Regions from separate parts of the Homo sapiens genome. Here regions 1, 2, 3 and 5 are each linked to region 4. Evidence: promoter capture Hi-C in human tissues and cell types (Jung and others, 2019). All regions are on one chromosome and are shown on one strand. The core of a region is centred on a gene start or on the middle of the fragment in contact, and the rest is flanking DNA. Distances in the headings are between cores, read along the strand shown. Region 1 overlaps RNF114 (ring finger protein 114). Region 2 overlaps SLC9A8 (solute carrier family 9 member A8). Region 3 overlaps SLC9A8 (solute carrier family 9 member A8). Region 4 holds the start of ZNFX1 (zinc finger NFX1-type containing 1). Region 5 holds the start of MIR12122 (microRNA 12122).

Region 1 (5,585 bases), core at 339-2,838, 670 kb after region 4:
CTACTATACAGTTTCTATTCATGGGCCAGGCAGGTGGCCAGAGTGACATTTATTTACTTACATGAGATGGAGTCTTGCTCTGTCGCCCAGGCTGGAATGCAGTGGCGTGATCTCAGCTCACTGCAGCCTCCACCTCCCGGGTTCAAGTGATTCTCCTGCCTCAGCCTCCTGAGTAGCTGGGACTACAGGCGCATGCCACCATGCCCCATTACTTTTTGTACTTTCAGTAGAGACAGGCTTTCACTATGTTGGCCAGGCTGGTCTCGAACTCCTGACCTCGTGATCTGCCCACCTTGGCCTCCCAAAGTGTTGGGATTACAGGCGTGAGCCACCACGCCCGGCCCAGAGTGACATTTAAGAAGATGATCTGGGCTGGGCGCAGTGGCTCACACCTGTAATCCCAGCACTTTGGGAGGCCGAGGTGGGCGGATCCTGAGGTCGGGGGTTCGAGACCAGCCTAGCCAACATAGTGAAATCCCGTCTTTACTAAAAATACAAAAAAATTAGCCAGGTGTGGTGGTGGGCACCTGTAATCCTAGCTACTTGGGAGGCTGAGGCAGGAGAATCGCTTGAACCTGGGAGGCAAGGTTGCAGTGAGCCAATATCGTGCCACTGCACTCCAGCCTGGGCAACAGAGCAAGACTGTCTCAAAACAAACAAGAAGATGATCTGGTCAGTCTTTGAGACAGAGACAGTGATACTTGCTCTTTCCATCTCCTAGCCCTGCCACCAAATTTTTGTCTACTTTTCTTGTGGTTTATATAATTTCTGCCTGTTATAGAACTTGGTTTGGGGACAGGTGCGGTGCAGTGGTTCATACCTACAATCCTAGCATTTTTGGGAGGCTGAGGCAGGTGGATCGCTTGAGCTCAGGAGTTCGAGACCAGCCTGGGCAACATGGGAAAACCTTGTCTCTGCAAAAAATACAAAAAGTAACCAGGTGTGGTGGCTCCTACCTGTAGTCCTAGCTACTTTGAGGGAGCTGGGACAGGAGGATCTCTTGAGCCCAAGAGACGGAGGTTGCAGCAAGCTGAGATCATGCCACTGCACTCCAGCCTGGGCAACAGAATGAGACCCTGTCTCAAAAAAAAAAAAAAAAAACAAAACACACACACACAACAACAATTTGGACTTGGGAGGCTCAATCTCGCATGTCCATGGGGACCATAATTGAAATGATCCTCCTGAGGATTTCCAAGCCAGGTGGTGCCTGACTCGTTATGCTGCCATCACCTTGTTTTCCTATGGAAATGCAGGCGCAGCATTGCCTAGCTTCTCCACCCCCCATGCCCAAGCAGGACAGGAAAATTTCACAGGAGGTTTCACAGGTTTTAATTATCTTCAAAAATACTTCAGGTCAAATAGCATATATCCACTAGCCAAATACGGCTGTCAGGTTTATATTCTTTCCCTAGAGCTGGATGGTTTCAAAGGGGCACACTGTTGTCTTGCCATTATAGTAGTAGGTAACTTTGGCCAACTATATCAAGTAAACCTCTTACTTACATATATAGATGTCAAGTTAGGATTTTAGAGTGGTATTCGGTCTTGATGGCTGAATTTCAGTATCTAAGAAAGAAAGCTCTCTGCTAAATTGTCATAAAGAATATTTTTTCTCAGTCTGACAGTGTCTGAAACTCAGACTTCAGAATAACTGCCCTTTTTGTTAATGTGACACAGATGAATTACATTCATCTGTGTCACATTAACAAAAATGACTCATTAAAAATGAGTCCTAAAAATGACTCATTAAAGAGGGCTAGTTGCGCTATAGTTTCTGCTGTATTGTATGGCTCTAAAAATCTGATTCTGTACTGTGCACTGATTCCACCTCTCAGAAACAACTCTTCAGCTCAGTGCATCTGCGTGCTCTGTTCCGACAGACTTACAAATGTTCTGAGCACTTGGTCTGTGCCAGCCTCCATTCGTGTGCTGTCTGGGTTTCTCAATCTCCATTTAAGGGAGGCATCCTTAACTTCATTTAAGAATCAGGCAGCAGACTGGGTGCAGTGGCTCATGCCTGTAATCTCAGCACTTTGGGAGGCCAAGGCGGGTGGATCACGAGGTCAAGAGATTGAGACCATCCTGGCCAACATGGTGAAACCCTGTCTCTACTAAAAACATAAAAATTAGCTGGGCATGGTGGCGCACGCCTGTTAGTCCCAGCTACTCGGGAGGCTGAGGCAGGAGAATCACTTGAACCTGGGAGGCAGAGGTTGCAGTGAGCCAAGACTGTGCCACTGCACTCCAGCCTGGCAACAGAGCGAGACTCCATCAAATAAAAAAAAAGAGAAGGCAGCAGAGACAGATTAATTTTCCCAAAGTTACATACCTAGCATCACAAACAGTTGCACTGGGGATCCGGTCCCTGGCAACCTGCTCCGGATCCAGTTGCTAGGCTGTCCTGCTTCTACTGAAAGCCAGTCTTTGCATCTAGAAACAGTTGCTGAGGCTGCATGTCTCTTTTTGCCCTTAGGATTATGATGTTGATGAAGAGGACATGATGAATCAGGTGTTGCAGCGCTCCATCATCGACCAGTGAGCAGAGTCCGTGCTTGCTATCTGTCTCATGTTACAGAGCTTCCATTACATATTAAACGTGAAATCTATGACTCCTGTACCTTACCTGTTCAACAGACCTGAAAATGAGCCATGGCATTGGGACAGGGTCACTTCTGACAGGGGAAGTGGGTCCCCAGGTCAGCCCTTCTCTTCCCTTTGGGCTCTTGCCAAAGCTGTCTTCCCCTACTGTTAACCTTGTTTGTCACACGGTCGAGTTCGTATTGGTTCTCGGCTACTTCCTGGAGCTTCTGCCGCCTCCTGTGGAAGATAATCTAGCTTCTCCACCTCTTGTTTCACACTCATTCCTCCCATCCAGTGTTTGTCTCTCGGGTCCTTCAAGCCAGCCAGGACCTTTTCTGGGTCATGAATAGCACAATGAAGCAAGTGTCTCCTTTCCTTGTCCCCAAGGTGTGCAGACTTTGGCAGCCGTGCACCTGACCAGAGCTGAAGCTCCCGCTGGGCTGTGGGGTTGCCAGAAGCTGGGGTTGCCATCCCGGGGTACATGTCACCAGTCCTCTTGGGGTTTTGTACCATCTGATGCTGGAAGTTTTGATTAGTGATATTTTCTACTACTACATATTTAGAGTTCACTGGTTCAGTCTTAAATGCCTGCATGGTGCCTTTTTAGGATAAGGTATAACCATACATTTTTGGTGGAAGTGTTTCTGGGTTAGGGAAGTTAAAGTCTGTTTATCCGTAAGTGGGGAGGAGGGTCAGCTAAGAGAAGTGGGAGGGCCAGAGCTTTTTGGTTCTGATTTACAAATTAATGAAGTAGTTTCAAACAACGCGGTCATGTTTACCTCTCCATTTGGGAGCCTGCCTACATTCTTGTTCTAGAAGCACAAAAAATCCTCAGATGAATTAGAAGAAAGAGGTTTGGGGACTCAGCGGATACTAGTTCTTTTACCTTCTGCTTGGTAACTTAGATTAAACTGAGCATTGTTTTTCTGTCACAAATGTTTTCCTTATGACACTGGTTTCGACATGTAAAATGTGTTTGAAAACCTGCTTTGTAGATGCAGAGAGAAGCTATAGGAAACCCAGTACCACCCCTGGTCTGTTCTGACGAGACATCGTTCATAAGGCACAGCACATCGCAAGATGAACAGTTGTTAATAAAAGCTGTTGCTGGAAACTTGCTTTAGGAACAGCTCAAGAACCTTGGAGTTCATATTTCACAAATATTAATAAATATAAGTCCAAGAGCTGTCAGCCTAATCTGTAGGAGCAGAACCTCTGATTGACCAAAAGGCATATGGGTTTAGGTTGGTTTTTTGATGTCATATGTCTCTGATGGGGCTGCAAGTGCTACCTCGCGCTTGTACACTGCTGCTGTGGGGCTCCGCGCCTGCCGGTGAAGAGCTGCAGATGCCGAGAAGCCAGCAAACACAGGGCCCACTGGAAAAAAATAGTTTTTTCATTAGTATTTCTCGGGAGGACCCAAAAGTTAAGGTCAGCTTGTTCACTGTAATTTCTGGAAGAAGTTCACTCAGACCTTCCTGAATTCAGATCATCTCAGAAGTCTGGAGGGAAATCTGGCGAAACCTTCGTTTGAGGGACTGATGTGAGTGTATGTCCACCTCACTGGTGGCACCGAGAAACTTACTTCCTTGTATTAAGTGCACTTCTTGTATTTCTAATAAGATGACTTTCCAGAAAGTGAGATTTGTTATGTTCTGGCTTTTAAAAGGTAAAATATAAATAAATTTCATAACTTAATCTAAGTGGTAAGCTATGGTTCTTGTTTTCATTCAACACATTTGCCATAGCATGGGCTTGGGGAGTCTCCAGAAGATGGTTACCCTTTCTAGAAGGGAAGTTCTTGCTTGTTGCTGAGTCCTGTTTGGCGTCAAATCTCAGCTGATGCCACCAGCTGGGCCTCATGGTGCCTGTCCTCTGGAAAAAGAACACTTGTTACAGTTGGGAGGCTCTGGGAGGTGAGAAGTGGCAGCGCTCCATATAGCAAGGCTTTAGACATGCGGCTTCTGCTACGTGCGGGTAACAGCAGCAGTGCTGAGGGCTTGTAGTAAAGGGGCTCCGCAGGGTCAAGTTTCAGGTCCTGGATGTGTTTAAGTTCATACTCTGCTGTTAGCTGTGGGGCATCTAGCGAATATTTTCTGAACCTGTCTCCTATGAAGTGGGGATAATTTTATCTGCCTCTTAAGGATGCTAGGATCCAAGGAGCAAAGTACACAGAGCTCTCCCTGCACAGCGCTGCATCGTGGGTGCTCACTGTAGTGTTTGGCTGCTTGAGCTTCATTCCAATCCCATAGAAACGTTATTTTTTAATTTTTTTTAGTAAGAGATAGGGTCTCACTATGTTGCCCAGGCTGGGCTTGAACCCCTGGGCTCAGGTGGTCCACCTTGGCCTTCCAAAGTGCTGGGATTACAGGTGTCAGTCCGAGCCTGGCCTGGAACCTATTTGTTTTGTTTTGCTTTTTTGAGTCAGGGTTCCGCTCTTTTTGCCCAGGCTGGAGTGCAGTGGCGCAATCTCGGCTCACTGCAACCTCTGCCTCCCAGGTTCAAGTGATTTTCCTGCCCCAGCCTCCCGAGTAGCTGGGATTACAGGCGCCCACCACCATACCCGGCTAATTTTGTATTTTTAGTAGAGGTGGTGTTTCATCATGTTGGTCAGGCTGGTCTCCTGACCTCACGTGATCCGACTGCCTCGGCCTCCCAAAGTGCTGGTTTTACAGGTATGAGCCACTGCACCCGGCCCTGGAACCTCAAATTTAATACAGCCGAGACAGTTCAGCATCTCCAATCTTCACCCATGCCTTCTTTTGTATTATTCCATCTTGCAGTGGTAACTACCCAAGCCAGAAACCTGGGAGGCCTCTTCCTCCCTCACATCCGTGCAGGCCACCTCTGTCTAAGTATCAGCTGAGTCCTGGACGCCAGTTACCTCAGAATATTGCAATTTGTGCCTGTTTCTTTGAGGTCTGACATCCTCTGGAAATGAAGTCCCGTGTCACGCCAAAACAGGTCGAGAAAATGACACTGGAACTGAGACCTGAATGAAA
Region 2 (6,163 bases), core at 217-2,716, 600 kb after region 4:
AATTACTTCATCTCTCTATACCTCAGTTTCCTTGTCTATAAACTGGAGACAACAATACCTACTTTGTAAGACCTTTGCAAGGATTTAAATTTAGCAGGATAATGCATGTAAAATGATTAGCATGTTGTCTGGCATAGAAATGTTTGATGATTGGAAACATTTACTCTTGGCCAGGCATGGTGGCTCACGCCTATAATCCCAGCACTTTGGGAGGCTGAGGCGGGTGGATCACTTGAGGTCAGCAGTTTGAGACCAGCCTGGCCAACTTGGCGAAACCCCGTCTCTACTAAAAATACAAAAATTAGCCGGGCATGGTAGCACACGCCTGTAATCCCAGCTACTAGGGAGGCTGAGGCAGGACAATTGCTTGAACCCGGGAGGCAGAGGTTGCAGTGAGCCAAGATCACGCCACAGCACTCCATCTCAAAAAAAAAAAAAACTCTCAAATTCATGCTTGTTAAAGGAATAAACTTAAAGCCTAAAGAATGTACTGTACATGTCTATATCATCCTTTTCAAGTAGTTATGGTGAGAACCAAGATGAAGAAAATGAAAGTAAAGTAATAAATGTCCTAAGAATCCACTTAGATAAGATTTAAACTTTAGGCTGGGTGCAGTGGCTCACACCTGTAATCCTAGCACTTTGGGAGGCAAAGGCAGGAGGATTGCTTGAGACCAGGAGTTTGAGACCAGCCTGGGCAACATAGCAAGACCTCATCTTTAACTAAAAAATTTTAAAAAGTAGCCAGGCATGGTGGTGCATACCTGTAGTTCTAGCTACTTGGGAGGTTAAGGTGGGAGGATCACTGGAGCCCAGGAGGTTGAGGTTGCATTGAGCCACAATCACACCACTGCACTCCAGCATGCGAGACAGAGTGAGACTTTGTCTCAAAAAAAAAAAAAAAAGATGTAAACTTTACATAAAGCTGTACTTTGCCAAGACTAACATGCCTTTGGAGATGGAGAGGAACCAAAAGCCACAGCAAGCAGCTGGCAGGCTAAGCCGGGGCATGTGGCCTCCTGATAGTCCCTACCTCTGCGTTCCTCTTGCTCAGAGAGCAGTGTTTCCATGCATGGGAGGTCCTTCATAGCTGCCCTCCTTTCCCTGAGGGAGAGGCAGAAACACCTTGTCTGTCCCCCTAGTCCTGGTATGATCAATGCAGCCCTGTCCCAAGGAGGGGCACCTTGGGAGTCAGGTTGCCCTTAAACTAATCTGTGAATACTTCTGTACAGCCTCTTGGCATTCAGTTTTGTTCTGCTGTCATTACTAAAGCCCTTCCTGATACCTCGTCCGTCCTCTCTTTTCTGGCTACTAAGAAAGGTAACGTACAAAGCTTTATCCTTTCCTAGATGCATAGAATCCCGCAGCTGTGGCAGCACGCCCATGCTGGGTCTCTGACGAGCATGGTGTTGCTCGTGTCTTTTGTGGCTGAGGGGAATACTGCATTTGTACTGGATGTGTTACACAGTCTGCATTAGCTTCATCCAAGAAGCTTCAGCTTGAAGAGCCAGATGTTTTCACCTAAGACTTAGTTTGTTGCTATCAACAGGTGCTTGTACTATTTGGCAGAGCGGTAAACATTTTCCCTCTTTCCTACCTCCTGAATTTCTTCCGGGATCATAAAATCACACCGAAGATGATGTTCATCATGTGGTTTAGTGGTAAGTCAAATCTTGGATAAATGGGGTGGGGAAGTACCTGTTAAAAGCACGCCCCATACAGGGAGAGCTGTGGTTCTCTGCTAGCGCCCTTGGCAAAACCACAAGTAATCAATACTCCCGTTTAATGGCACCCACTGCAATCAAGATGGTGCCCCTCACCATGGTGCTATGAAGTGGGTGAGGCTTGGTTGGAAGAGGGCAAACAACATGCCCAGGGTCACGTGACCACTGGAGGCAGAGCCGGGATTTCTGCCACTCTCTTCTGAACACCATAGTGCAGTCCGGGATGCAGCTGGGCGTGCTTCAGCGCCTCCCTGGGGGTCTTCTAGGCTGAAGTAATAATGGTCTCAAGGTAGAAAAGGTGAAAGTTGAAACTGTTTCATACCTTATGTTAGTTTTGGATATTTTTCCTTTTAGTCACAAAGTTCTAGTAGTTTAATTTGAATGTTTCAGTTGCTATTTAATCACTTTTTAAAGGACGGAAATGATTTCATACATCTTTGCTTCTAAAGAACTGGATCCATAGGCATCCTTAAATTTATTTTTGAGCAATACATACTGTTCTTTATGCTTTCTTGCTTAAATATTATAATCAAAGTATTTTCCGTGTGGGTTGGGTTATAGCAACACACTATAATGTTCTCTATCCAAAGGCATATCTGCAAGTTTGTCTCAGATTTCTCTTCTTTCAAAAGGCCATGTTTAAAAATGTATATGTTTCATATATATGTACGTATGTGTATATATACATATACATTTATATGTGGTGAGAAAAACTCATTTTTTTCCTAATCTCTTTTGCCAGTGAGGCAAACTACTTTGTAAATGGTTGCAGAAGTGTGTCAGAGGTTTTTGAAGTGATGTGGGCTATTTGGGAAGGGGGGCATGAGGATAAGAGAGCGTTATGGGGAAGGTTGGAGTGTATTTGAAATGGCGGGGGCTGTCGGCTCCTGTTCTCTCCCAGGCTCCCCGGGCTCTTGCTCTGTGGGTTTCCATCCAGGCTTTCCTGGATCCTCAACGAGGGGCACTGAACAAGCCTCTGCTACCGGCCCCTCCCATCATCATTTAAGCAATCAGAGCTTCTCCTCCTTCCCACAAAACACCAGCAACTTCAGCCAGAGTTCCTCCTCATGTCCCCCGCAGCTGTGTCCGCACCTCTTTTGCCATGGCCAGACCCTTGCGAGTGAGCCGTGCTCGCTCATTTTCTCCACTTCTTCACCGCCTGTCCACGGGGCTGGAATTGGCCTTGGCAGGTCACCAGTGACCTCCCGCAGCCAGACCTGGAGGGGAGGCGTCCGCCCCCGTCCTAGCCTACCTCCTTCCCACTGCCCCTACCTTCTGGCGAGGACCACTTCACTCTCTTCCCCGGCCTCTGGGCCATGCTCCTCCTTTCTCTCCTTTGACGTCTCCTTGGGCTCGTCCCCCTTCGCTGACCCCTCAAATAGTGGCTTCTTCAGGACTTGGCCCCAGCCCCACTTCTGTTCACGTGTTCTGCACTTCACTGAGTGCGCTCACCCGTCCACTGGCCTTCACTTCCACCTAGTCCCAAAGCTGTTCCCGCGAACCCAGACCTCCCTCTGGGATCCGTACTCCTGTTTCCAGCTGCCTGTTTGGATGCCGTGGGGATGCTGTCATCCCTATGCCTTTGCATCCCCCTTGCCCAAGAAATCCTACTTTGAATTGCCCGGTGGCCTGGCTAGCCGGTACTAAGCACTTGCTGGGTACACACCCTGTTAAAGCACATTACATGTCCCGTGTCACTGAATCCTCTGGCCCGTGACAGGTTTAGAGAGGCTGAGAGTCCCTTGTCCTCACCATGTCTCTGTATTATGTGCCCTTTGCTCTTGCCCTGCCGTCTCCCCATCTGGGTCTGGCCTGCAGCAGCCTGGCTGCCCTACCCCATGGTGATGTGAGCCTCCCCGCTTTCCTGTCTGGGGAAGGTCCTGGTGCTGTCTGCACCATGCCCCCCCCCACCCCCCACCCCCCTCCCCCCACCATCTCTTCCAGGTAGCATTTCACACCCCTTATTTGCTGTGCCTCCTCCCAGCTGCTCTAGGAGCTCCCCAAGGGTGGGGCTAGGACTGCCTGTCCCCTCCGTATGGCACCAAGGAAGCCAGGAAACTTCTAACAGAGGAATGTGCTGTTTTCCAGCTCAGTCCATGCCCCTCAGTTGTGCCCTAGTAGCGTCACAGAGGACCAGCCAGCCTGTCATTACCACCTAAGCAGCCCACAGCCCCATCAGTGCCACCAGGGGCCTCCACAGGGACAGCATCTCGAGATAGGAGGGGTACTGGACACATTGCATCTTGTGCTGTTGTGGGTATTAGTTGAGTGGCCCTGGGCGGGCCATGCTGCTCTTGGCCTCCATCCCTCATCTGTGTGTTGTGGACAAGAGTAGCGCTGCTCGGTGAGGATTCCTGTGAAGATCCAGTGATGCTCTGCACACTGAGCACCTGCCCAGGCCTGGCGCACACACAGGGAGGGCTCAGCCCACAGCAGCTGTCCTGCAGTTTCCAAGACACGAGCATCAGGCTTGCTAAGTCCTCCCGCACCCGCATCTGGGGCTCTGTAGCTGGGGCAGGCCATCTCATTTGATCTGCCAATGTTGGAATGGAGGTGAGTCTGTGGTCCCATCTCTGCCACCTGCTCTTTACACCCCAAAGCCTCACAGGGTGAGCACACACTCTTCAGCAGGGCCATTAGAATAGTCAGCTGGTCGTGGTGCTGGGCCGGCTGGATTTCCAGGGAAGCCAGCCCATGAAGCTGCTGCCTCTTCACTGTGTCCTCTCACACTGTTTGCTGTCACCCAGGCCTGCGGGGAGCCATCCCCTATGCCCTGAGCCTACACCTGGACCTGGAGCCCATGGAGAAGCGGCAGCTCATCGGCACCACCACCATCGTCATCGTGCTCTTCACCATCCTGCTGCTGGGCGGCAGCACCATGCCCCTCATTCGCCTCATGGACATCGAGGACGCCAAGGCACACCGCAGGAACAAGAAGGACGTCAACCTCAGCAAGACTGAGAAGATGGTTAGTACCATGCGCCTGTGGGGGTGGGGCAGGGGGCTGGCCTGCTACGCAGCTGGTGGTCCCCACTGTCAGGAAATGGGGAGATGAGCCTTGCTTTCTTGCTTTGAGGATGCCCAGCACCTCCACACACACGACACACACACACACACACACACACACACACACACACACACACGACACACACACACACACGACACACACACACACGACACACACACACACGACACACACACACACACACACACACACACACACACACACACACACACACCCCCCGGTCATCCCCCCTGAGAAGGAGGTGACGGAACTTGAGTTCTGAAGCATGGCTCTTGGGGTGGGGGTGTCTGGTGGCCTTGTGACCTGCCGCAGCCATGGGGGCTGTGGACGACCCCATCTGCTCCCTCTCTGAAGCTCCATGGGGCACCACAGGAGTCTGGACCTGTGCCACAACCACAGCAGTGCCTCTGCCCTGCCAGCAGCTGAGACACCTGTCAGGGCCCAGGTTTGAGGGTTTCAAAATCCTGTCATTCCCCAGTATGGTTTTACTAAAAACCACCTGTTGGGGGCCTGAGGAGGGGAGGATGTCTTGCGGTGGCTGTGAGGGCCGTGAGAGGGGTACTCCCCCAAGGACAGACATGGTGTGGGGCTGGAGGTACCCAGGCCCCAGCTGTAGGGAGAGCTGAGGTTCTGCAGCCTGCCCACCTCTTCTTCCTACAAGCCACCGCCCCTGCCACCAGGCTGCCTTCCCGCCCTGTCTTCACCCTCAGGACCCCTGTGCAAAGCTAGGCCCTCTGACCGAAGCAGAGGCTGCTGTAGGCTCCAGCCCAGAGCATCCCCTGCTGATCACCATGCATTTCTGGACATGCATCTCTTTCTAGTTCCCGTATTCTAGGCCTCAGTAACTTTAATCAGTCATCAGAGGCCCAGGAGTCCTCACGTGGCCATCCACGGCTAACACTGGAGTCAGGGCTGGCAAGACCATGGCCTCCAATCTCCATGCTCAGCTGGGCCCCTCACCCAGTGCAGTGCTGCTGGGAGGAAACTTCCAGATGGCTGTGAGGCCTGGCTCTGCAGAACTTCCACCACACTAAGAGGCCCTTTGCCCCCACCCCCTATCTACCAACTTTTTTGTTTTTCACAAAAGCTCTAGCTTAGGCCTTTCTGGGTATCAGAATCGGTGGGGGGCTTGCTACACACAGGCTGCTGGGTCTCACACCAGCATCTCATAGGTATGGTATGGGGTCCGAAAGAATTTGTGTTTCTTCTTATTTATTTTTGAGACAGGGTCTCACTCTATTGCACAGGCTGAAGTGCAGTGGCGTGATCGTGGCCCACTGCAGCCCAGACCTCTTGGGCTCAAGCGATCCTCCCACCTCAGCCTCTGGAGTAGTTGGGACTCCAGACAGGCGTGACCCCACCCAGTTAATTTTTTCTTATTTTTAGTAGAGATGGGGTCTCACCATGTGGTCCA
Region 3 (5,385 bases), core at 1,661-4,160, 570 kb after region 4:
TTATCTTTGAGTCTGGATATTCATTACACAAGGTGAGACTCAGGCACACATTGGTGCTTTGGTCTGGACAGTTTCTCATGTTTGTAAGGCAAGTTCCTTAAAAGCTTGGGTATAATTTAGCAGCAGCAGCAGCAGCAGCTCTGCTCCTTCCTGGTTGTGCTCAGTGGAAGCTGGACTGCAGTGCCTGACTTCTGGAGAGGAGCAGACATGATGAATTGGCTGCTTTAATGGTTTCAGGCAGTATGGCTCACTGAGCCAGTGTTTGCCATAAATGGGTGCTTTGCCCAGGAAGATGGCTGAAGTGATGTTAAGTGGCTCACAGATGATGCATTGACTCGTCTTCCTGGACACAGACTGATAGATGTAAAGAGGATAGACTGTGTCCTGGGACGACGGGGACATGTGCCCCAGGACTTTTGTTTCTTTCAGCTCCCCCACTGGGGCCTTTCTAACCTTCTCAGGCCCATCCATCCTTCCATGTCTCCCTCTCGGTGCCCTCCCCTGGCCTCAGACCCCAGCTTGATATTCCCCTTCATCCCTCAACCTCTATCGCTCCTCGCCCACTCCCTGGTCCAGCTTCTCCTTCCCAGGCTGGAGCCCCATCCTTCCCTGCCTAGTCCCACAGTTGCCTGCCCATTCTTTCCTCCCTGCCTTGGTGAGCAGTGGCACTGGCCCCTACCCACTTCTCTGCTTTGGCTTGGCCTTGACGGCCATTGCCTTGCAACTCCCAGTGTGAGATGTTTTTTTTTTTGTTTTGTTTTTTTTGAGATGGAGTCTCACTCTGTCACCCAGGCTGGAGTCCTGTGGCATGATCTCGGCTCACTGCAACCTCCACCTTGTGGGTTCAAGTGATTCTTCTGCCTCAGCCTCCTGAGTAGCTGGGATTACAGGCACACGCCACCTTGCCCGGCTAATTTTTGTCGTTTTAGTAGAGACGGACGGGGTTTTACCATGTTGGCCAGGCTGGTCTCGAACTCCTGACCTCAAGTGATCCACCCACCTTGGCTTCCCAAAGTGCTGGGGTTACAGGCATGAGCCACCACACTCGTCCCCTAGTGTGAGTCTTTCTGCCTGAGCAGGAGCTTCTCACTTTTAAGCCTGCTTGTGTGCGTGCATGGTTTTTTCCTTGTCTGTGAGTTTTCTTTAAACATAAATGTATTTAAGTTTTAAAATAAAGTGATTCAACTTAAAATACTAGTATTAATAATACAGCAGCTATTTTGTGAATGTGATTTTTAAAAAAACTGTGAAGATTGGAAAGTTTAGGCCAGTCCTTGGAGAGAGGAAAGCCAGAGACACAACACAGATCTAATCATGCGCTGCCCCCTACAGGTTTCTTTTTGGTAAAGTAGAAACCAAAAACCCCAAAACCCTACCTCCCAGGGTGCTTTGAGAGTCACACTAGATGAAAGAACGTAGGCAAAGCACCACCCACCACACTAAATAAATGAAGTGCTGCTGCTTGTTATTAATGATAAAAATGTCATTTATTATTAATAACAATATTACCACCAGTAGTAATAATAATTTATTAAGCTTAATATGGTCGGGCCCAGTGGCTCATGCCTATAATCCCAGCACTTTGAGAGGCCGAGGTGGGTGGATCACTTGAGGCCAGGAGTTCAAGACCAGTCTGGCCAACATGGTGAAACCCCATCTCTACTAAACATACAAAAATTAGCTGGTCGTGGTGGTGCGTGCCTGTAATCCCAGCTACTCTGGAGGCTGAAGCATGAGAATCATGAGAATAGCTTGAACTCGGGAGGTGGAGCTTGCAGTGAGCTGAGATCACGCCACTGCACTCCAGCCTGAGTGATAGAGGGAGACTTTGTCTCAAAAATAAATAAATAAAAATAAACTTAATTTGTTGTTGACATGGTATAAAATAAATAAATACATAATTTTAAAAAATGAGTTAGATTTGTCTAGAAATGTTTGGTAAAAACATAGAAATTAAGTCTTTAATTTTCCTGTACTAAAACAAAAGCATATTAAGATGTTCAGCCCAGATTTTTTTTTAAGTTATTATTTTATTGTGCATCTATCCAAAGAAAAAGTGAAAAGGAAATTTAATGTAAAAAATATTCACAAGTCTTACAAACTGTTAGTGACATCAGATAATTTTTAACAAGGAAACATAAGTTGAAGGTCACCATGTCTTTCCTTTCACTTTGTAAACAAATCTTAACTGTAAGCAGATATGAAAATATTTCAAAACATGCTGAGGAAATTGACTTGATTTTGACTTAAAAACATGACATTTTGAATATTAGAGCATGTAAAGTTTTTCTTTTCTTTTTTTTTTTTTTTTTTAGAGGGGAGAGAAACTTGTTCAAAATTTGAGGAAAGTAATAGTTTTTTAGAGAAACATTTTGTTGAAGATGACTTTCCAGCAGGAAATGTGACAATTTATATGAAAGGGACTGATAGGATTATGAAATGCTACTTCTGAAACTTCTATCCACTTTCTACCCTCGCCCAAAGATGATAGGAAGTAAAGTTTGAATATTTTATTTTAATATTATGATATCTGCTAATGTAAATTTGGATTTAGAATACAGATTACAGTAAGATTATCATCAGTTGATATGCATTAGCTAGGCAGCAACTGGTTCTTTGAATTGCAAATATTACACAAATCACAGGATGTTAATTATGTCAGAGAGAAACAGATAAATTTGCTTTATGTAGCAGAGGGAAGTTCTTGTATTATGGTAACTTTAACTTGGGTAAATGTTCAGGATCCAGATTAATATTAACCAAATATATAAATTATATCAACATTAGATCTCTGCAAACAGGTCAAAACTGATTAATCTGTTTTTTTTTTTTTTTTTTTGAGATGGAGTTTTGCTCTTGTTGCCCAGGCTGGAGTGCAATGGCACGAACTCGGCTCACTGCGAACTCGGCTCACTGCAACCTCGGCCCCCTGGGTTCAAGCGATTCTCCTGCCTCAGCCTCCCGAGTAGCTGGGATTACAGGCGTCTATAACCACACCAGCTAATTTTGTATTTTTAGCAGAGATGGGGTTTCTCCATGTTGGTCAGGTTGGTCTCGAACTCCTGACCTTAGATGATCCACCCGCCTTGGCCTCCCAAAGTGCTGGGATTACAGGTTTGAGCCACCGAGCCCAGTCTAATCTGTTTTTAAATAACAAAAGAAAACAGCGATTTGCAAAGAGCAACTCATAGATTGAAAGCCCTTTGTTTTGAAAAACCAAATCATTGTGTTTTAAAATTCTTTGTGCAGTAAAGATTGATATGCCAAACAAAGGAATTGAATGTCAGATGATAGGCAGCCAAGTCAAAATTGCAGCTTCTAGGAGGTGGGCTTAGTGGGGCAGTCAGTGTTCAGCTGAGGACACTCTTTCACAAGTGGGCTTTAAAATAGCAGGTCTTGATGTCCATGGTTTGGTGATTTCTGAGCTAAAAACAAGATTCTTGTTCACAACCACAATCGGGGGTGATCAAAGACTCTTGGTAGCTCCTAAGTGGAGTTCATAGGGTTATAATAAATAGCTTAATTTCCTTAATTTTATGGAAATTTGAAAGATGCTACCATGCTGCTTGAACTTGAATATTTTATCTTAAACGCTGTGAAGTATAGATAGAAACATTTTATCTGACATAGTTAATGATGATACTAATAGAGTGAAGTAAAATTGTTTAAAAGACCTGGCCAGGAAAAAGGAATATCTGATAGTGTATCTTGGTATCCTAATAGTGTGGACTTTGGATGTGAAACACAGTTAATTCCTTCAGTGCCTGTCTGTTGGGCATCTTCCATCTGACGGGCATTATGTCAGGGACCGTGTTGTGCGAAAGCAGGTGGGGTCATTGCCCAGAATGAGCCTGCAGCCTCATGGGAAAGTAAGACATCAGTACATAAATAAGTGCAAAATTGCAGTCTTGTCAACCGCTACAAGAGAGGGTGACTGTGCACTGAGAGCACAGACTAGGATCTGGGAAGAGTTGAAATGTCCTGAGATCTTGGGATGATGAAAGCTTAACAAGCAAAGAGGGAGCACAACCTGCTCGAAGCCACCAGTGGGACTGGAACCCAGAGAACAAAGGCGAGCATGGTGCCAGATGAGCCCAGAGGCCTCCCCAGGAGTCGAATCATTCAGGGTGGGGGCTAGCTGCATTTTAAGTGGAAATAGGGGTCCAGGTGAAGGCAGCACAATCAGATTTGTCTTTTGGGAAGATCATTCTGGAAAGACGGGAGAGTGGAGGGAAAGGGGCCCTGGGGGGTTGAGGAGACTTGTGCGAAGCTATGCAGTGTTTCAGATGAAAGATGGTGTGAGTGACGGGACACTGCAGTAAGTGCGGGGGTGCAGGAAGACTCCCGGGCTCCCAGCTTGCCACACAGGTTGGGCAGTGGTGCCTTTTACAGAGAATCAAGTCTGCACGGAGGGCCAGGTGTGCAGGCCGTGCCTTCACTGACAGGAATGGCTTTTCTAATCATTTCCCTGATTTCTGCTCTTTCAAACAGGGTAACTTCTTTCAAAATATTGGTTCCATCACCCTGTTTGCTGTTTTTGGGACGGCAATCTCCGCTTTTGTAGTAGGTGGAGGAATTTATTTTCTGGGTCAGGTAAGAAAATCATCTTTGAAACACTTTGAAAGTCTTACATTCTTAGAGCTAGTGCAGGGAGGTGGGAAGGTGAAATGGGGCCACTTTGTGGGGCCTGGGTTTCACCCTTAAGGTAAATTCCTTCTGGAAGGAAATCCTAGCTTCATATGAGGCACAGTAGAGGCGTGCTAAATTGTTTCAAAGTGTCCTCCAAGACCTTTGGTATCTGGAATTGAGTAAAACTTTTCCATAATCCCCCCCAAAGTATTTGAGTTTATTTGCAAACCAATACTGTCTTAAATTAGAATACCTAAAAATGAAGCCAAATATATGCCATCAAGAACTTCAAACTGTGTTGTCAAGTAGACTGAATTGGGGTTGAATGCTGTTTTTTGATAAAAATTTGTATTTAAAAAATCAAAGATGTGCTTTTCTGCTGGCATTGGAGAAATAATAAAATCAAAGGTGATGCTGAATCTCTTCACTCAATTCTAAGCTGTCTACCTGTAGAATTATATACTCTGGATTTTCCACAATTGCTAAACCACTTCCCAGTGGCACCAGTTGGGTGGTCTCTACTTTAGACTTCAAATTAATTTAGACCAAACATCCCTAGGAAGGTAGTATCTGTAGTTTTGTATTATGCATGTCCATGCATGTCACATTCTTTTCCTTTATTGTCAGTTGCAGAAAGTTTGCCTGTCTCAGTTCTGAAAATTAAGTTGAGGGTCAGGTATCTGAGTGACGGGCAGATTTCTTTAACACATCAGCTGCTTTCTTCTCTCAATAGCCAAAGCCCATTCCATTGGATTT
Region 4 (5,658 bases), core at 1,841-4,340:
AAAAAAATTAGCCGGGCGTGGTGGTGGGCACCTGTAATCCCAGCTACTTGGGAGGCTGAGGCAGGAGAATGGCGTGAACCCGGGAGGCGGAGCTTGCAGTGAGCAGAGATCGCGCCACTGCACTCCAGCCTGGGCGAAAGAGCGAGACTCTGTCTCAAAAAAAAAAAATAAAATAAAAAATAAAAACTTATGCTCTTGGCTTACATTGTTTCTATTGGATGCTGCTCTACACCAAACGTCATTTCCCTTTCTGAAACTCTATCACTGTTTTTGTTAAAGTGAACTGCACCCATTCATCAGCTCTCTTAGGAAAAGTGGAGGGTTGGCTGTTTTTCAGAGTAATTCATGAAGTAATTAAGAAATAACTCATTCTTTTTTTTTTTGAGACAAGGTCTTTCTGTCACCCAGGCTGGAGTGCAGAGGCCAGATCACAGTCCAGAGCAACCTCTGCCTTCTACACCCACCCCTTCCTGAGGTTCAAGGGATCCTCCCACTTCAGCCTCCCAAGTAGCCTAAGTAGCTGGGACTACAGGCACGCAGCACCAAGCCCGGCTAATTTATATATTTTTTTGTAGAGAAAGCCTATTGCCATGTTGCCCAGGCTGGTCTCAATCCCCTGGGCGTAAACAATCCTCCCGCCTCAGGCTCCCAAAATGCTAGGATTATAGGCTTGAGCCACTGCATCCAGCCATAGTCATTCTTTACTTGAGAGATGCAGACAATCTTAGGTAGGCCTGCTCATTTATAGAGAGCCCTATTTCCTTCTTTTATTACTAGAATTTCCTTCTCATTAGGTAGGAAACCTTGCTTACCTCTGTGGTTGGTATGGGAATTCCTGGGCCTGGCATCCAGATGAGGTCTTCTCTCCTCCATGTCTGAGTCACCTGAATTCCTTCACGTTACTTTCTGTTATCTGGAAAACTGCACATGTTGAGTTATCAGTGTCCTCGAAACATAGCATCTAGCAGCAAAAACCCAAACACCATCAAGCCAGTCCTTCTGCCTTTGTTAACATTTTAATGATTTGTTAACTAAGGGTTAAATACAGATTTTAATCTAGAGCACAAGTGCTCGACTCTGCAAATGCCCAATTATGATATAAAATATTAAATTCACAATTTAGCTGATTTCAAGAGATAGAATTCCCCTTTCTTTTACCCTGGCACTTTCTTGGGGTAGAGGGAATGTCATCAATTCCCATTCAAAACTGCTGTTTGGTTTATGCCTTTAGCCAAGTTACTTAATCAGTTGCTAGGTTTCATTTTCCTTTCCTAAGAAGCAGACAATATTGTTGCCAGGACAAAAAGGAGTACATTTTTGTTAATCCAAAACCATGTGCTCACCACCTTATCTGGCATTTACATATCTGCCACTTATATAGTACCCAATAGCTTGCAGTACCCTACAGTTTATAAATAATTAGTGAGCAGTTATCCCCTTAGCCTACTCTTTGGAATGGAGCCAAATGATTAAGCTCTCTGCTCTACTGAATCAAGAGAAAGAAATTACATGTTTCAATAACCAGGAGGTTTGGCAACTACGAGGTGCTGTTTCCTCAGGACCAGCTAGAAATCTGATATTCTTTCTTCCTCCTCATTCTTCTACCTTGGTGATTTTTGACACTGGTCCTGTAAGAGGAAGAGGAAGCCCCTTTAAGGGAGCTTCTCAACCCAACTCATACACATGGTGTGGGCTGGGGCTAAGGAAAGAGTGGGTGACTCAGAGTCCTCAGCAAAGGGATTTTTGAGACTGTCTTCACTGAGTTCTAAAATATTCATAATTGGAAACTGTGACTACATTTGGCATTATATGAGGGGCAGCTTTTTTCCTCATCTGAAAAAGGAGTCTCTTTTCTTCCCCCTGGGAATATCTCTGGTGAGTCCCCTCCCTCATCTTATCAAACCCAGCCCTCCTGGCGCAGGCTCAGTATTTAGAGTTTGTTTGTTTATTTTCAATTCTCCGAGGGGAAAATTCCTTCTTCCCCTTGTTGAAAAATGCTAAAATAGAAACTCCAGAAAATTTAAAAGAAACGGAAGAAAAGAAAAAAAGATGTTAAAAAAAAGGCAAGGGAAGGAAGGGAGGAGTAGACATGAACAGGAAATGCTGGGATCGAAAACAGACTGAAGTGTTTTTTTTTGGTGGGGGGAATCAAGGCCTAAAGGGCACGAAGAAGAAAATCAGTGATGATCAAGCTGGCCTGGAGTCAGAATGAGAGGGGCTAGTCATCACCAGAGTGGGACGCAGGAGGCTGAGGTCGGAGGCAGAGCTGGGTTTGGGGGAAGTCTCCAGGGTCCTGGGGAATCCCTGACCCAGGGAGCCCACGGTCCCTAATGGAAATGTTATGGGGTCAGGGAGCGCCAAGGCTGTGAGGTGGCGGGGTTATGGGGGCCTTGGGGAGAGGGTGGTAGCGAGCACCAGGGGGTGCTTGCTGAGGACGGAGGCGGCGGGGTGGGGGCAGGGAGCAGGCTGAAGGGGGTGCCGAGGTGCTCTGTAGAAGAGGGGGATTGATAAGGTGACAGGAGGTGAGGCCGGAGGAATGAGGGGGGTGCGAGTGGCAGAAGGGAGGGCACAGACAGGGGTAGGGGCAGAGGAGATCGAAGTGCTGAGGGCAGAAGCGGTGACGGTGTCGGGGGTGCTGGGGAGAGCGACGGGCCAGCTGAGGGGATGGGGACACTAAAGAGAGTACAGGGGAGCCGAAGGGGCGACGGGGCGCTGAGATGGGCCAGGGGCTGAGTGGGTGACGGGGCGCTGAGTAGGCGATGGAGGTCTGGGGTCTGAGGGGGAGACGGGGCGCTGAGAGGCGCTCTGAGTGGGTGCTGATGCCGCTGGGGGCCAAAGAGGTGACAAGGCTCTGAGTGGGTGATGGGGGTCTGGGGATTGAGGGGGCGACGGGGCGCTGAGGGGCCAGGGGCTCTGAGCGGGTGACGGGTGCGTTGGGGGCTTGAGAGGGTGACAGGTCTTACGGGCAGAGGCAGTGGCGGGTCGGCGCGGGCGCCGGGGTTCGCGGCGAGGCAAGGAAGAATCAGGGGCAGGGGCAGTTGCGGGGCCACTCACCCGGCTCCGGCGCGTCCTTTCACTGCCGCCGGCGAGTGCTGGGGCTTCGGCCCAGGCAGGTCGGTGGCCCCGCCCGGCGCCGCGCACTTTCGGTTTCCGTTCCCCGCAGACCCTGGGCGGAGCCGGGCGGGCGGCCCAGAGGAGGAGAAGGAGGAGGCGGGGGCCCAGGGTGGAGAGCACGAGGGCCTGGCCCAGGCACGGCCGGCGCCTCCGCCCTCGAGGAGGGCGTCACCTCAGCTCCCCCCGGCGGCGGAGCCGGCGGGCTCAGGCGGGCGCGGCTGAGGGGAGCGGACCGCGGGGGGCGGGAGATGACTGCGCCCAAGGCCTTTGCGGGCCTCAGCCGGCCCCAGAGGAAGGGGAACCCGTCGAGCGGTTTGGTGCGTGTGAAGCGCGACATGGCGAGGAAGCGGACAAGCCCGGGTGGCCCGGCGTGTAGAGGGAAGGGGGCGGGGCTAGACGCGGCCTGGACAACTACTAGAGCGCCTCGGGCTGTGCTGCTCGAGACTACATTTCCCAGAGCGACGCGCGCGGAGCGGGCGGGAAAGAGAGCGTTTCGGGTCCAGTGCGCAGGTGCGAAAGCCATCTTTGGTTATATAAGGGAGGTTCAGGAAGCCATTCGTTCTTTCGCGTCTGCGGTGCCCGGAGTGTGGTACTTCTCCTAGTTGCAGTCAGGCTTCATACGCTATTGTCCTGCCCGTAAGTTCCCGTTTTGTGTGTGGTGAGTGGAAACTCCATGTTCTTCGTTGGAGACCTCTGGTCCTCCCTTCCCTTCTTTGTGCCGTCGTCTCTGCGGCCAGCCCTAATCTCCTTCTCGTGGCTTCTCCGTCTCTGACCCCAAATAGGCCTTAAGGGCGTGGGAGAAATGAGTTTCTGGAGCTGGAAAAGCCACTGCCTTCTGCACGGGCCTGAGAAGCCCTTGGCTGGTGTAAATGATGACTTCACTTTTTTCCCCATCAGATCGACAATGCTGACGTCTTATATTTTGCCAGTTAGTTCTGATACATCGGCCTCAAAAGGCCCGGCCTTGTTCGTTTCTGACCGTGGGAAGATGGCGGTTAACGCCCTTTATTTGTTGGTTCACAGGTTAGAGCAGCCAGCGGGTACAGAATGGATTTTGGAAGAGGGAGTCACCACTGGACCTCCAAGGAAGCCACGTGCAGACATCTACAACCTTCGATCTCCTGACGAGTAAGTCTTTGTCTCCTATGGGTCTACTGTAGAAAACACGTGCTTTGAGAAGCTTTAGTTTTCTAGGAAAACGTGGGATTTAACAAAGCACTTTCTATCGAGCATTTATTAGGTATTTAAAAAAGTGTTCTGACGGCCGGGCGCTGTGGCTGACGCCTGTAACCCCAGCACTTGGGGAGGCCAAGGCAGATGGGTCACCTGAGGTCAAGATTTGGAGACCAGCCTGGCCAACATGGTGAAACCCTGACTCTATTAAAAATACAGAAATTAGCTGGGCGTGGTGGTACGCGCCTGTAATCCCAGCAACTCACAAGGCTGAGGCAGGAGAATTGCCCGAACCCGGGCGGCGGAGGTTGTAGTGAGTTGAGATTGCGCCACTGCCCTACAGTCGGGGCAACAGAGCCAGACTCCGTCTCAAAAAAAAAAAAAAAAGAAAAACATGTTCTGAATGTTTTATTCTCACAGTTCAAATATTGGAACTAGGTTTCTGGTGAAGAAACAGGTTTAAGAGAAATGCCTGAAGTGAAAGAACCTTGTTAGTGAAGAGGCGTTTAACATTTTAATGCCACTTAAACATATTTTTGGATTCCATTCTTCCTGTGTGTTGGGGCGCTTAAATTTCCAAGTGGAGGGATGATTTATTGACATATTTTGGAAAGCCAAATGTGTTTTTCTGTTGAACTAGCCACTCAAACCAGTGCCCGACTACATAACTAATATTTTTGCTAGAGTCCAGGAGTGAGGCGTTTACAAAGTCTGGGCTTCATGGGAACACATGTGAAGCTTATTGTTCCAGATTGTTCTTTTGTCAGGTAACTTGTGGTAACTTGTGTTAAAATGCAATCTCTTGGTACTTGTTCACTTCCCAACTCAGTAAATGCCAACTACTTCCTCAACTCTTCCAGCCACACTGGCTTCTATCATGGGCCTGTACTCAGAGTGTAAGCACTGAAGACAGGGGTGTTTGGTTTGGCTACCAAGTTATTGCCAGCTACAGGATACAACACAGAAGTGCTCAAACACCGAATGCAAATTTGCAAATATGAAGCATACCAACCAAATCTTACTCCTCATGGCTTTCAAATCTTACTCCTCACTCAAGAACTTCCTGCTGGCATATATGATGACTTAGCTTTTTTCCCCGACAGATCGACTATGTTGATCTAACTTTTCTAAGCCAGTTTCTGTCTGATATGCCAGCTTGAGCAGCTCCTTTGTCCCAGCTCCCCTGGGCATCTAGCTGATGGGAGCTCATTTTTCTGTTTTTTCATTTCAGGTTTATTGTTGGCCAAAACCAGGCTTTGATTGAACCAGGATGAATGCGGGTGTTGGAAGTAGAATATATATATACATATAAAATTGGTAAGTGGTGCCAACACGTCTTCCCTGGCTGAGTAGACACAGGCTCTGGAGGGG
Region 5 (6,068 bases), core at 439-2,938, 590 kb after region 4:
CACCACCACACCCAGATAGTTTTCGTATTTTTAGTAGAGACGGGGTTTCACCATGTTGGCCAGGCTGGTCTGAACTCCTGCCCTCAAGTGATCTGCTCACCTCGGCCTCCCAAAGTGCTGGGATTACAGGTGTGAGCCACCACGCCCGGCATCAGCCCACATTTTCTCAAGCACCTTCCTTGAGCCCGGCCAGTCTGAGTTAGTTACCTACCCACCCTGCTTTTCTACAGCCCTCTACCCCTCCCGCGGATTGTCATTAGTGTTCATCTTGTTTTTCTCCCTCATTAGCCTGAGGGGAGGAGCTCCTTAAGGGCAGCAGCTTTGCTCTCATCTCTGAACCCCAGAAAATAACAGTACCTGGGACAAAGTAGGTGAACAATAAACGTTTGGCTGACTGAATGAATGATGGTATGAATGAATGAATGAATGAGCGAATAAGCAAGAAATGTTTTAAGTTAATTTCTAAGAACTTTGTGTATATAACATTTTAATTTATTTCTGTTTTCTTTCATTTCCTAGCACAGCTGAAGGTTTAACAAGAAAAAATATGTCAGATGTCAGTGGGTGGCAAACATTTTTACAAGCCCTTGACTACTTCCTCAAAATGTTCTTTGGCTCTGCAGCGCTCGGCACTCTCACTGGCTTAATTTCTGCATTAATATCCTTTTAATGTGATGAACATGCAGGGTTAAAATTATTCCTGATAACTTCTGTCTCTAGCCAGTTTCTCCTGTTTTTTAAGGGGGCCAATTTTAGATGAAGATTTTGCTTAAAGGAGGATTTTTTTGCTTAGTTTTTGTTTGAGAAACACTCTAACTCAAGGATTTTTTAATCTAACGTGAAATTTAGGATGTCACTTTTCAAAGTTTAAAAAACATGTACACTGTTGGATATCAGATGTGATTTTGGGGACCTCTCAGTTCCCAGAGTATGATAACCACACTCCGATGATTTTCGTTTTCTGCCATCTTACTTTTCACATTTGGAAAACTGGAAATTAATTTTCTTTGAAAATGTCAAATAGACCAGGTGCAGTGGCTCATGCCTGTAATCCCAGCACTTTGAGAGGCTAAGGCCAGAGGATTGCTTTCGCCCAGGAGTTCAAGACCAGCCTTAGCAATGGAATATAGTGAGACCTCATCTCTAAAAAATACATAAATAAAAATAAAATGCCAAATAGAGAAAATTTTTATCCCACTGAAAGTGTTTATCCAGAAGGATTGCAAAAGGGGCTTTCAAAGTGTGTTCCATTGAGTTATTTGCACTGATTTTGTTGTTTGACAACCAATAAGCTTTTCCAGCTGGAGATGGAAAGAGGCTTGTTAAGGCCAATGTCACCTTTATTGCTGTAGAAATTTCATTATGTTTAAAATAGTAACAGGCAGTAGACCACTTCGGTGCGCACCTAAGCCTACGTCTCAGGGAGATGGCCACCTGGCCCGCCTCCACGAGCAGTTTGTGTCACAGATGGCCGGAAGAGACTCTTTTGCCTGGTTACAGGCATGTTTTTCTGCCATCCTGTTGAATTTTCCCATCAACTCCTTTGTCCAGAAGTCTAAGGGCTCTATTGAGTTGGCTGACAGCTTCTCATATTGTACCAATAAACAGAATGGAAAAGAAAATTTTTTCCAGTTCAGTATTTTCCTCTATATTTATCTTTTTCTTTAAAAAAAAAAAGTATCTATCAAAATGAAGTGGAGCAAATGGGTACTGTGAGCTCCAGTATAGGCATTGTGAATGATGTTTCAATATATAGAAGGCTCTCTCCTTTCACAGGGGCATGAGTTTGGAAATCTCCAGGAATAGGAAATACTGTGCTTCAACAGGGCCTCGAACCTCAGTTTGAACAGCGATTCTCACTAGTTGTCTTTGACTCAAAACTGATGGGGAAAGCAAGATGGGTAGCATTAGTGATCTCATCCGATGTTGTTGGAGGAGTGGGGGTGATGCCGGCCCTGGGAGGAACCTGGCCAAGTGAGCTGTCCTTGGTGTGTCTGCAGCCCCAGCTTTGCGCCATGGCCCGGCACATCCCCAGCCCTCTAAGTCAGCGTTTTTAAATGAGTTGACTTAGGTTGATTTTCATCTTCCACCACCATTTATCTCCGGAATTTACATTTCTTAGTGTTTTGTCAGATTCCCTTTCTTATAGCAACAGTCTCCCTACAAAGGAAAAAATCCATAATGACAAATTTCCATTTGTAACCTTGGGACATTCTAAAATCTATATCTGTTGTTTACTTCATATATTTGGAAAGCAGCAGTTTTGTGACTTCTCCACATCTCCCATCAACTCTCCCTCGATTCTCCTTCCTTGACAGTTGTCATTTACGTGCTGAAGCATATTGACTTGAGGAAAACGCCTTCCTTGGAGTTTGGCATGATGATCATTTTTGCTTATCTGCCTTATGGGCTTGCAGAAGGAATCTCACTCTCAGGTAAGTGACAGAGAGCCTGAAAGTGCTGTGGTGATGGCATCTTGTCCTGCCTGGGGAAAGAGGCTTTGTCAGTTGGGTCACTTTTAGTCACAAGAGACAGTCACAACTCAGAAGAGCTTAAGTAATAAAGGAAATCTATTGGTTCCCTAGAAACACATCTGGATTTAGGCCTGCCTGGATCCAGGGGCTCAAACAGTCACATTGGTGTCACGGTCACATTTTCTCTTAACCCGCCTTCTCTCATTTAGCCCATCAGTCCTGTGAGGCTCCCTCAGAGGAGGGTAGCCTTGTAGGAGGGAGGTACTGTGAAGGTCCCTGTTTTACTGATGAGAAAACTGAGGTTGAGTGAGATTAAGTAAATTACTCAAGGTCACAGCTGGGATTGGTGGAACAACGATTCAAACTAGTTGTCTTGGAGTCAAGAACTAGTGCTTAGAACCCTCTAATACAACTCCCTCCAAAACAGATCATCATGAAACCATGTACTCAGTGCTACATAGAGGGACAAGCAAAGTGTGGTGGTGGCGTAATGTTGGGCGTTTATTGGACACACTTTACCAGTATTCAGTTTTTTTATGCTGATACCAGCCCTGTGAAGTAGGTACTAAGAGGTTGTCATTAGCCCAAAGCTGCACTGCACAAGCAGTGGTGGTAGTGAGATTGACAGTGGAGGCCCAGAGCCTTTTCCCTGCACCCCATTGGAGGAGGGCACACAGCTCTCAGCAGCAGAGACGACTCTGATGCGGCCCTAGAAGATGATGCTCACCAGCTGGAGGAGGGGTGGCCAGTCACAGCGTAATGATCTTGGAGCCGTCACCTGGTAATCACTCAGCAGCCCAATCAGGCTTGGCTTAGTTGGGCTTTCTGCCTACAAGTGGCAGTCAAGCTTGCGTCCACAGCTTGTTACGTTGTAAGGATGTTGACCTGAAAATGGAGCGTGACTCACCCCTGTTCCTGTGTGAGGGGGCAGCCAGTTGGGAAGGGCTCTGCCCTGGAAGTCTGATCCCATCCTTTGAGTGAAGGCCCTTCAGAGGCCTTGTTCTGGAAAGGAGGCACTATTGCAGGGATGTTTTGATCTGTGCCACAAGATGGCAGAGATTTTCTTTTTTATTAACTTCGTTGAGGTATAATTTACACACAATACATGGACCCGTTCTAAGTATATAGTTCCATGAATTTTTGCAAATGTGGACAGTCATAACTACCCCCACAGTCGAGGTGTGGCATATTCTTATCGCCCAGTGTGGCTCCCCTGTGCCCTTCTGCAGTCAGTCCACCTGCCTGTCCTGAGCCCTGGCACCCACTGATCCTGCACTGTCATTGTAGTTTAAATGAAATCATGTGGTACGTAGTCTTTTGTGTCTCCTCTCTTTCAGTTACGTTTTTGAGAGACATCCGTGTTTTTGCGTGTGGCAGTAGTTTATCGTTCTTATTGCACCACAGTTTGTCTGTTCATCATTTGAAGGGCATTTGGGGTTTTCCAGATTTGGGCTAAGAACAGTGTGCATGTGTTTTCATTTATCTTGGGTAAATACCTAGGATTAAGGCTGCTAGGTCATATGGTAAGTACATTTTTACTTTTTTAGAAACTGCCTAGTGTTTTTCGAAGTGACTGTATCATTTTACATTCCTCAGAATGTATGAGAGAGTGCCAGTTGCTTCATATTGCCACCACACTTATTTTAATTTAAAAAAGTTTAGCTGTCCTGATAGGTGTGTAGCAACTGCATTTAGATGTGCTTTGGTGTGGTTATTTTTATATTCGCCTTGGGTTCATTGAGTTTTTTGGGTTTATAGTTTATATGAGTTTATAGCTTTCATCAAATTTGGTAAGCTTTTGCCCATTTCTTTATCAATATTTTTTTGTTCCGCCTTCCTCTTCCCCTTGAGACTTCAGTTTACTCCAGTTATGAGAGGTAGCATGCTATTGGCCCACAATATGCTTTGCCTTTTTTTCTTTTTTTCCCTATGTGCTTAATTTTGGTTATTTCCTGTTGCCGTATCTTCAAAGTCACTGATCTTCTGCCATGTGGAATCTCCTGCTAATCCTACCCAGCGTATTTCTCATTTACATATTTTATAATTCATCTACAGCAGATCCCTTTAGGTTATTTTCATTTCTTCCATTTCTCTCTTCATCATGTTCATGTTTTCTTCTATATTCTGGAGCATATGAAACATAGAAATTTCTGATAGCTGTTTTAATGTCCTTGTTTGCTAATTCCGTCATCTCTGTCAACTGTAGGTCTGTTTTGTTGTTGATTTTTCTTGTGCTTATAGGTCACATTTTCTTGCTCTTTGCTTGTTATTAAGTTTTGATTGGATGTCAGTCATTGTGAAGTTTTATGTTGTTGAGCACAAGATTTTATTGTATTCCTTTACGGAGTTCTGGACTTTTCTTTTAAAAACAATTTTTTTTGTGTGTGTGTGTTATTTCTGGACTTTTCTTCTGGCACGTATCTAAGTCTCTTGACATCAGTTTAATCCTTCTTGAGGCTTACATTTAAACTTTTTTAGGGCTGGTGCAGAGTAGCAGGGCCCTAACTAAGGTGTCTCAGGTACCGTGAGCTCACTCCACTCTGGCTGGTGGGAACGCAAACTATTCCCACCCATGTCAGCTTCTGGAATTGTTCAGCCTACTTCTTTTTAATGGTTCTTTCCCCAGCTTCTTGTTTCATCCGACATATTTACTGATCAGTATCAGTCAAAGACTCAAGGGGACTTTACAGTAGATGTCCAAGAGCTCTCTTTCTGTGCAGCTTCCCCGACTCAACAGGACAGCCCTCTTAAAGCCTCAGCCTCAGGCAGTCAGCTCAGCAGGGGGCCTAGGGAAAGAGTGGCCACCTTTGTCTCCCTTCCGGCAGGAATCACAGTCCTACCCTATCTTTTGTCCCATGTCAGAAAATAGTTTTGTTTCATATCTTGTATCAGGTTTTCTAGTTATGTAGAGCAGGACAGTGTTCTGTGTAGCAGTAATTTCTTCAGACGCAAAGCTGAAGGCCCAGTGGTCTCTAGTGACTCAGTTGACAGAACTTTTCTACCCAGTCGCTATCCGGAGTCACACTTGGGTGCTGCATGAGCAGCACAAGGAGGAAGCAGAGTGGACTCACCATTTTCAGGGTTTTGTTTTTCATCGCAGACCAGTTCACCAGGGTAATTCCATCCTGGTGTCTGCCATGAGGTTCCCTTTCTTTACTGAATGTTGGCACTTACAAAAACGTTACCTGTGAGTCATTCGGCTCTAGCCTAGCTATTTTTACATCTGTTTTTCTAAATTGTTCCTCTACCCCCTTGAGAAGATCATTGAGTACCTGTTGGCAAAGATGTGTTTCATGCATCTGTTTGGAATCTGTGATTAAAATAAGGGAGTGTTTTTCTTACCTTCTTTTCAGACTGGCAGTGTTTCCTGTTGAGAGGGGTTTCATTTCCTTAGGGACCTTGCTCCACACACAGCAGTGCAAGCCAGGAACACCAGATCTGCCTCTGGGTGAGGGAACCTGCTCTGTCCGCACTTTGCCTTTTGGGTATTTGTCACGCAGGGTTTTCAGAGAGGGGCAGGATGGCCCTGTGTGGTGTGTGGACGCCCCACATTGCACTGTGAAAGCACAGATGGAAAGGGTGGTTTCTGCTGTC

The links. Contacts are between HindIII fragments. The study calls those that stand out against the background at their distance.
Region 1: a fragment that was not itself captured here is called in contact with the fragment with the promoter of ZNFX1 in region 4 in 1 of the 25 tissues and cell types used here (dorsolateral prefrontal cortex).
Region 2: a contact is called between a fragment that was not itself captured here and the fragment with the promoter of ZNFX1 in region 4, in 1 of the 25 tissues and cell types used here (aorta).
Region 3: a contact is called between a fragment that was not itself captured here and the fragment with the promoter of ZNFX1 in region 4, in 1 of the 25 tissues and cell types used here (small bowel).
Region 5: a fragment that was not itself captured here is called in contact with the fragment with the promoter of ZNFX1 in region 4 in 1 of the 25 tissues and cell types used here (dorsolateral prefrontal cortex).

Annotation. Positions count from the first base shown.
Region 1 is chr20:49,949,600-49,955,184 of GRCh38, forward strand. RNF114 (ring finger protein 114) reads left to right here. Exons shown (of 6, transcript NM_018683.4): 6 at 2,477-4,286. The coding sequence ends at 2,542. Among named protein-coding and RNA genes, the nearest start is that of RNF114, 16 kb to the left of the region's middle. The HindIII fragment of the contact is 6,868 bases long and covers 1-5,022 here.
Region 2 is chr20:49,879,375-49,885,537 of GRCh38, forward strand. SLC9A8 (solute carrier family 9 member A8) reads left to right here. Exons shown (of 16, transcript NM_015266.3): 13 at 1,550-1,661; 14 at 4,472-4,692. Among named protein-coding and RNA genes, the nearest start is that of MIR12122, 19 kb to the left of the region's middle. The HindIII fragment of the contact is 5,664 bases long and covers 1-4,298 here.
Region 3 is chr20:49,845,088-49,850,472 of GRCh38, forward strand. SLC9A8 (solute carrier family 9 member A8) reads left to right here. Exons shown (of 16, transcript NM_015266.3): 5 at 1-32; 6 at 4,492-4,593. Among named protein-coding and RNA genes, the nearest start is that of MIR12122, 16 kb to the right of the region's middle. The HindIII fragment of the contact is 4,181 bases long and covers 821-5,001 here.
Region 4 is chr20:49,274,967-49,280,624 of GRCh38, forward strand. It overlaps ZNFX1 (zinc finger NFX1-type containing 1), which reads right to left and starts at 3,091. Exons shown (of 14, transcript NM_021035.3): 1 at 3,055-3,091; 2 at 813-921. The coding sequence starts at 873. It overlaps ZFAS1 (ZNFX1 antisense RNA 1), which reads left to right and starts at 3,212. Exons shown (of 4, transcript NR_036658.2): 1 at 3,212-3,750; 2 at 4,138-4,242; 3 at 5,519-5,604. It overlaps SNORD12C (small nucleolar RNA, C/D box 12C), which reads left to right and starts at 3,979; the gene lies at 3,979-4,057. SNORD12B (small nucleolar RNA, C/D box 12B) reads left to right here and starts at 5,347; the gene lies at 5,347-5,449. RefSeq lists enhancers at 2,266-2,325, 2,667-3,167, 3,168-3,668, 3,426-3,720, 3,596-3,795 and silencers at 2,866-3,095, 3,146-3,505. The HindIII fragment of the contact is 7,798 bases long and covers 1-4,659 here.
Region 5 is chr20:49,862,410-49,868,477 of GRCh38, forward strand. It overlaps SLC9A8 (solute carrier family 9 member A8), which reads left to right. Exons shown (of 16, transcript NM_015266.3): 9 at 520-658; 10 at 2,330-2,435. It overlaps MIR12122 (microRNA 12122), which reads left to right and starts at 1,450; the gene lies at 1,450-1,544. RefSeq lists enhancers at 5,341-5,450, 5,691-5,740. The HindIII fragment of the contact is 4,214 bases long and covers 1-3,795 here.